Linked DNA regions of Homo sapiens: region 2 is linked to region 1. Evidence: promoter capture Hi-C in 16 types of primary human blood cells and fetal thymus (Javierre and others, 2016). All regions are on one chromosome and are shown on one strand. Each heading gives the region's core, a stretch centred on a gene start or on the middle of the fragment in contact. The rest is flanking DNA. Distances are from core to core; before and after follow the strand shown. Region 1 holds the start of TREM2 (triggering receptor expressed on myeloid cells 2). Region 2 has its middle 9.1 kb from the start of TREM1.

Region 1 (4,317 bases), core at 1,491-3,990:
ACTTTTTAACAGAGCACAGAAAAGCACAAATTGTAAAAAGAAAAATCAAGGAATTGGACTTCATCAGAAATAACATCTATCCATTTAGGCTGGGTGCAGTGACTCATGCCTGTAATCCCAGCACTTTGGGAGTCTGAGCCAGGCAGATCACCTGAGGTCACGAGTTCGAGACCAGCCTGGCCAACGTGGTGAAACCCCGTCTCTACTAAAAATACAAAAAAATTAGCCAGGCGTGGTGGCAGGTGCCTGTAATCCCAGCTACTCAGGAGGCTGAGGCAGGAGAATCGCTTGAACCTGGGAGGCGGAGGTTGCAGTGAGCTGAGATCTCACCATTGCACTCCAGCCTGTGTGACAAGAGCAAAACTCTGTCTCAAAAAAAAAAAAAAAAAAAAAAAAAAAAGATGCTGCTAATGCTGCTAAGGAAATGAGAAAAAAAGTTACAGACTAGAAGAAAATATTTGCAAATCACATATCTGATAAAGGACTGCTATCCAGAATAAAAAGAATTTTCACAGCTCAATAATAATGATAATAATAAACAATTAAAAATGGACAGGACAAAAGTTTTGAACTAATACTTTGCTGAAGAAGGTACAGATGGCAATAAACAACAAAAAGATGTCCAATATCGTTACTCACTAGAAAAATACAAGTTAAAATTGAAGGAGATATCACCTTAAACCTATTAGAAAGGCTTTTTAAAACCTGACAATATTAACTGTTGACAAGGATGTAAAAATGGTACAGCCTCTTTGGAAAAGACTTTGGCAGCTTTTATAGACTTAAACATACACTTACATGTGACCCAGCAGTCCCATTCTTAGGATTTTATCCAAGGGTAATAGAAACATATGTCCACACAAAACATATGTACATGAATGTTTATAGTGGCTTCATTTATAATTGTCCCAAACTGGAAACAACCCAAATATCCATCAGCGGGTGAATGAATACGCTACTTGTGGTTCAACCATAGAATGAAAGATGGTTTAGCAATAAAAAGGAATACATTCTTGAGAAGTGAAACTTCACGCATGCTGAATTTATTCTGATGAGTGAATAAAGACTGACCCAAGAGGCTACATACTATTTAATTCCATGTCTATGACATTTTAGGAAGGGCAGGAAGCTACAGAAACAGATGTCAGCTTAGTAGTTGCCAGGCCCTGGATTGGAGAGAAAGAGACTGGCTAAAATGGGCACAAAGGCTCTCGCTTAAGCTAAATGAAACTTTCTATATTATGGTATTGTGTTACACAGACATGGTGATTGTGGTGGTTGTTATAGAGATGCATGAGTTTGTCAACATTTACACAACTAGACATTTAAAAGGGGTAAATTTTTGTATATGTAAATTATGGGCCAATAAACCTGACTTCTAGAAAAAGACCCTAGAAGAGTACCTACAGAGTGATCTTCAGGCAGCCTCAGACTTCAGCCCCCAGGCCCTTGGGGCAAGGCCGGGCAGTTGGCCCTTTGAGTGGAGGCCTGTCTTCTCCTCACTATGAATTCCCCATCTCCAAGCACATTCCCTGTCCGTAAGTTAGATGCACAGTAAATATGAGTAAATAAATGAATAAAAGAACAAATAAGTGAGTGTTTGCAGGAAACTAAAGTAGACCCTGATAATCTACAGGCTCCTGCAGGCTTCTCCAGCCTCTTCTGCCACTCCCAGCACAACTCCATTTCCCACTCCTAGAATTGACTCAAGCCTCCTCCATCCAATCCCCGACTCACTGGGCCATTTCACACTTTTGTGCCTTTGCACACGTGGGTCCCTGTGCTTGGATCACCATGGGAACCTGTACGTGTAGAAAAACACACCCCTACCCCCAGAACTCTGAGAAATATCCTGTCCTGTCCTGTAGGATAGGATGATCAGGAGTTCAAGCATGTGTGTGCACAAAATAAACACCAGTGTGAGCATGTGTGCACAGGAGACACCCAACAGTTCCAAGAAGGCTAAACTTGGGCAGAAAATTCCAGGTGGGAGAGAAAATTTTCTGTCTTATGGACAGCCCATTTCCCTTTTCCCTTCTAACTAGGATAATGGTAATAGTTAGTATTTGTTGAATGCTGTGTGTCAGGCCCTACTGGAAAGCACTTTACCTGTAGGAACCCATATGGTGCTCCTGATAACCCTTTGCACTATCATTATTCCCACTGTATAGATCAGGGAACAGACACAGGTAGGTTTTGGATGTGTGGTTACACACCCAGAAAGTCAGGAAGTCTGGCTCCAGAGCTGTGTACTTAACTGCTGCCACACTACAGGAATGACAGCCCTGGGGGGATGAACTAAGAGGTGCTGGATGAGGGTCCTGGCCTCTAAAGGCACAGCTGTTCTCCAACTCTTGCAAGGCTGAAACCAGAAGATGGCGGGCATTGCAGCTGGTGGAGGGTCTGAATACAGCTGTGAGGATAGTGATCCCTGGGCTAGGCTCTGCAAGGAAACTGAGCAGTGCAGGGCCTTACCAGCCCCAACCATCTGGGGGCCACCCTGGCTGGCACCAGCAGGAGGGTGGGCTGGCTTCTCAGAGGTCTGGGAGACTCAGCCTCCTTCTGCCAGGGCTGCAGTGGCCGACTCCTCCTCCCCTCTGTCCCCACCCTGCACCGCCTCCAGACCCCAGTCCTGACTATTGCTTAATCCCCAGGAGCCCAGTTCCTGTGGGCAGCGCCTGACATGCCTGATCCTCTCTTTTCTGCAGTTCAAGGGAAAGACGAGATCTTGCACAAGGCACTCTGCTTCTGCCCTTGGCTGGGGAAGGGTGGCATGGAGCCTCTCCGGCTGCTCATCTTACTCTTTGTCACAGGTAGGATCCCCTCCGTGCCCTGTGATGCCTTCTCTCCCTCACTTTGAGCATGTGGTTGGGGCGCGGGTGGTGGGCCCTGGGGTGAATTATGAAGGCGGTGGCAGTCCTCGCATGCCTGAGTGCCCTGTTCTGCACTCCTCTCCTCCCCACCCTGCCCATATTCTTCACACCCTCCTTCCCTCCCCAGTATCAAAACCTACCCTCAGACTCTTTCTGCATGTGGACATGTAAGGGGCTGGTGGACTCTGGTTGCATTGGAAGGGAAGGAGTGCTAACAGTGGCATCCCAGGCACTAGCTGGCAGTTGGGGGAAGCTTTGGGGGGCACTGGCACTGGTAATAGCCTCTGAAATTATAAGCCACTAATTATGAGCCCCTACAGTTATAAAGGAGGAAAGAACCTGAGGATGTTCATCTGCATCTTTGGGGCACTCTCTCCCCTGCTCTGAAGGTCCCCTTGTCCTCAGCTCTTGATGGGAGGTGAGGAGCGTAGAGATTTCCGTTGCTGAGTTGAGGGGAATTGACACACCAAATTTTTGTACACAATTGCTTCTTCCCGCTGAGGAAAGCGCACCTTTTGCTCCCCCAGAGCACTGGACAAACCTGGGCAAGAGGAGAGACGGTGCCAAATGGAGTCTTGTTCCTGCAGCTTCTTAGATGGTGGTCAGGGGGAAGGCGGGGTTCTGAGGCATGGATGGGAGGTGGTCAGATGGGAGAGGGCCACGGCCCATCTGGTCTCTCTAGTTCCAAAAGGCAAGCCACCAACTTCCCAATCCTATCTTTCAAGCCTCTGTCACAGTAATGGTTGAAGATGGCAGGCAAGGGAGGACCAAGAGAGAAGTCAAAGCAGGGGGCTCTGGGGGCTGCCCCAGCAACAGGCTGGTGCTCTAAGCCCATCTCCCCCGCCCTAAGGAGGGTTCCCAAAATAGCAGCCTCATGTCTCCCCCAAAATATCTCCGAGACGGGTCCTTCCTGAAAGGGGAACAAAGCCACAGAAATAGGGAAGCTGGAAGTTAAAGGTCAGGAAAGTCGGTACCAATGTGGGCGGCTGCAGAGCAAGCAAGAGTGGCGGGGCAGGGAGAGCCAGCCCCAGGCCGAGAGGAGAGGTCCCAGTCCCAAATGATGGCAAAGAGATGTGCAGAACAGAACTGGAGGGGGTTTTAAGACCAAGTGCCTCCAGAATAGACCCAGAGAAGGTCAGTTACTTCTCCAAGGAGGCCCAGCAAGAGCAACAGTGAGAAAACCAAACCCAGGTCCCAGGTTTCCTGGTTCCCAATTTCCCACAAACACATGCTGTGCCATCCGCTCCCAACTTGTATAAGAACCTAAGCTCCTTCAGGGCAGGATTTTTGTCTGTTTAGGTCACTGCACAGAGCAAGTGTTCAAAGCGTATTTGGTAAACAAAGGAGTGAATGAATGTCTCCTCCCCAGAGCTGTCCGGAGCCCACAACACCACAGTGTTCCAGGGCGTGGCGGGCCAGTCCCTGCAGGTGTCTTGCCCCTATG
Region 2 (4,106 bases), core at 1,568-4,067, 130 kb before region 1:
CCTCAGGACCACTATTGTACAAATTGATTGTAGAACATGTGTGTTTGAACAATATGAAATCAGTGCACCCTGAAAAAGAACAGAATAATGGTGATTTTCAGGGAACAAGGGAAGATAACCATAAGGTCTGACTGCCTGTGGGGTTGGGCAGAATAGAGCCATATTTTTCTTCTTGAAGGGAGCCTATAAACAGACATGCGAGTAGGGGAAATATCGCTGAATTCTTTTCCCAGCAAGGAATATTAATAATTGATACCCTGAGGAAGGAATGCATTCTTGGGGGGAGGTCTATAGATGGCCGCTGTGAGAGTGTCTGTCTTATGTGGTTAAGATAAGGACTGAAATACACCCTGGTCTCCTGCAGTACCCTCAGGCTTACTAGGATTGGGAAATTCCAGCCTGGTAAATTCTAGTCAGACTGGTTCTCTGCTCTCAAACCCTGTTTCCTGTTAAGATGTTTATCAAGACAATGCGTGCACAGCGGGACATAGACCCGCATCAGTAATTCTAATTTTGCCTTCGCCTTGTGATCTTTATAGCCCTTTGAACCATGTGATCCTTGTGACCTACTCCCTGTTCATATACCCCCTCCCCTTTTAAAATCCCTAATAAAAACTTGCTGGTTTTGTGGCTTGGGGTCATCATCATGGTCCTAACAATATGTGATGACACCCCTGGAGGCCCAGCTCTAAAATTTCTCTCTTTGCACTCTTTCTCTTTATTTCTCAGACTGGCCAACACTTAGGGAAAATAGAAATGAATCTACGTTGAAATATTGGGGGCTGGTTCCCCTGATACTGGGGGAGGTGCTACACACTTTTAAATGACCAGATCTTGTGTGAACTCAGAGTGAGAGCTCACTTGTCACCAAGTCATGGCCCAAGCCATTCATTTGGGATCCACCCACTTGATCCAAACACCTCCCTCCAGGCCCTACCACCAAGATTGGAGATTACATTTCAACATGACATTTGGGTGGGGACAAATATCCAGATTATATCAGCTGGTAATGGTCTTTCTTTAACAAATTTAATACTTCCTTCAGGACCTCTTGTAAGACAAGTCTAGTAGTAATGAATTGCCTTAGCAATTGTTTGTCTGACATGGATCTTATTTCTCCTTCACTTATGAAGCTTAGTTCGGCTGGATATGAAACTCTTGGTTGGCATCTCTTTTCTTTAAGAATGCTAAATGTATGCAGCATAATTCACAATTGCAATTATATGGAATCATCCTAACTGCCAACTAACTGATAAGTGGATACAAATATATGGTATCTATCTATCTATCTATCTATCTATCTATCTATCTATCCATCCACACACCACAGAATACTATGCATTCATGAAAAAGAATGAAATACTGTCTTTTGCAGTAACTTTGAAGGAACTAGAGTCTATTATCCTAAGTGAAGTAAAAACTTGAACAGAAAACCAAATACAGAATGTTCTCATTTGTAAGTGGGAGCTAAGCTATGGGTACACAAAGGCATACAGAATGGTATAATGAACGTTGTGGACTCAGAATGGAAAAGAGTGGAAAAGGGGTTCAGGATGAACAATTACCTACTGGTACAATACACACTATTTAGGTGATGAATACACTAAAAGCCCAGGCTTCACCGCTATACAATTCATCCACTGTACAATTCATTCATTCATCATGTAGCCAAAAACCACTTGTACCCCTAAGCTATTGAGATTAAAAACAAACAAAACAAAACAAAACAAAAAAGAAAGCTAAATATAGGCCCCCAGTCTCTTCTGGCTTGTAGGATTTCTGCTGAAAGTCTGCTGCTAGCTGGTTCTCTTTGTAGGTGACCTGCCCCTTCTCTCTAGCTGCCTTTAATACTTTTTTCTTTCATTTCAACCTTAGAGAATCTGATGACTATGTTTCTTGGTGATGGCCATCTTATCTAGTATCTTGCAGGGGTCTCTGAATTTCCTGAATGTGGTCCTCTCTAGTGAGGTTGGGGAAATTTTCATGGATGATAGCTTGAAATATGTTTCCAAGTTGCTTGCTTTCTCTCCTTCTCTTTCAGGGATTCTAGTGAGTCATAGATTTTGTCTCTTTACATAATCTCATATTTCTTAGGGGTTTTGTTCATTCTTCTTTAGTTTTTTTCTTTATTTTTGTCTGAGTTATTTTGGATAACCAGTCTTTGAGCTCTGAGATTCTTTCTTCAGCTTCATCAATTCTGCTGTTAATACTTCTGATTGTATTATAAAATTCTTGAAGTGAGTTTTTTGGCTCTATCAAATCAGTATGGTTCTTTCTGAAAACGGCCATTTTGTCTTTCAGCTCCTATATTGTTTTATTGTATTCCCTAGAATCCTTGGATTGGGTTTTGGCTTTCTCCTGAATCTCAATGATCTTTGTTCCTATACACATTCTAAATTCTGTTTTTGTCATTCAACCATTTCACTTGGTTAAGAACCATTGCTGGGTAACTAGTGTTGTCATTTGGAGGTAAAAAGACCTCTGACTTTTTGAGTGGCCAGAGTTCTTGTGCTGATTCCTTCTCATATGTGTGGGCTGATGTTTCTTCAATCTTTGAAGCTGCTGTCCTTTGGACGGGTTTATTTGCTTTTATCTTCATTGATGGCCTTGGGGGTTTGATTGTGGTATAAGATGGGTCCTGTTGACTGGCTTTGTTTCTGGAAGATGTTAGGGGGCCAAGGCTCAACTCAGCACTCCTAAGCTGCAGGCTCTAACTCTGGGGGCGCTGGAATGAGGCCCCCAGCTTTGTTCTCTGGCCCCTTGAGGTTAGGAACCAGCCATGCTAGAGGGACAGAGGTATTCTGGGGCCTCTGGTCATGACACTCTGATGGGTGGTACCAGCCAAAGCACTTTGTCAGGGTGATGGCAGCAGGATCCATGTGTGTTTGTGTGTGTCAGCAGCAGCAGCAGCAGCAGCAGCAGCAGCATAGCAGGGTGCACGCTTGTTGGCTGGGGTAGGGTCCTGGTGGCTGTGAGGCTGAGGGCCACTACGTGTGTGTGTTTGTGCTAGTGGTGGTGGCAGTGTGGGGTGGGAGGTGGGGCCTGTGTGCCTGTGTTCACACTGGCAATGGCAGCATGGCTGGGGCAGGGGTAGGCTCATGCCTGCAGTAGTAGCACAGTGAGGTTCACATGCACACATGCAGCAGCGGGGGAGGGGAGGTGAGATCCGCCCACACACACATGTGCTGGGAAAGCGGTGGGGGGTTGGCTGTGAGCAAATGTGTGCTGGTAAAGTGGCATGGGGAAGGCTGCCACAGAGGGAGGGTGTGGTGGGCTGATATTCATCAGCAGGGGCCACTCTGCTTGAGTGCTCTGATGGTCAGGTGCAGTCTGCTGGTGAAGGAACTATGATGCAGGTCCCCAGGAGGCATGCCAGTTTGGTATCCAAGGCTGCACTGAAAGCAGGCATGGGCAGGCTGGGGCCCCAGGAGAGGCCAGCAGACAGGAGGGCACTCAGATCAGACTGGCTTGTCTCACTGGCAAGACCATCCTGCTCTGTTGAAATTGGACAGTTCCCCTAAGGCTAAAATCTCCTAGGAGATCATGGTGAGCCTTGTGGTATGGGCATCCCCAGCTGTGCTCCACCACAGACATTCCCACACTAAACCCTCTGGGCTCTACACAGGCTGGAGTCCTGCCCTTACTACCTCTCTAAGCAGCTCCCCCTGCCAGCTCAAGTGTCTTTGGGGTTGTGGGGTCTCCTGCTGCCAGGATTCTAGAGGTCTGTGGCAAAAGTGGGTCACGCCTTGCCTGCTCAACTCACCTGTTCCCCAGAGTTGTTGGGGGCCAGGAATGAGTCCCAAGGTATGATGGCCCGTGCAAGATTCCCAGCTTTCTCTCCCCTTCAGCCCAGCATCTGTGTCCTCCCTCCATCCACTCTCAGTGCCTTCCCTCAGTGCACCAGTCTTCTCTATGTCACCATCCTTAGGTGGCAGATGTTCCTCCTGGCTGCATCTAGTTAGCCGTCTTACTGAGATCCTGCAGGTCACAGGATGATAGAGGCTGCAGCAGAGTCACCTAGGGCCTCCTGGAGCAGAAAACATAAAGTAGTGGAGATAGGACCCAAGCTGGGTGAGTGGGTACAAAAAGGCAAAGACTCTGCCAGA

What was found. Contacts are between HindIII fragments. The CHiCAGO score rates a contact against its expected background, and 5 or more counts as called.
Region 2: a contact is called between a fragment that was not itself captured here and the fragment with the promoter of TREM2 in region 1, in 3 of 17 cell types (M2 macrophages, neutrophils and M1 macrophages). The highest score is 6.0, in M2 macrophages.

The regions. Positions count from the first base shown.
Region 1 is chr6:41,161,539-41,165,855 of GRCh38, reverse strand. TREM2 (triggering receptor expressed on myeloid cells 2) reads left to right here and starts at 2,740. Exons shown (of 5, transcript NM_018965.4): 1 at 2,740-2,813; 2 at 4,243-4,317. The coding sequence starts at 2,774. The HindIII fragment of the contact is 7,981 bases long and covers 1-3,128 here.
Region 2 is chr6:41,293,771-41,297,876 of GRCh38, reverse strand. No RefSeq gene overlaps it. Among named protein-coding and RNA genes, the nearest start is that of TREM1, 9.1 kb to the right of the region's middle. The HindIII fragment of the contact is 3,363 bases long and covers 1,136-4,106 here.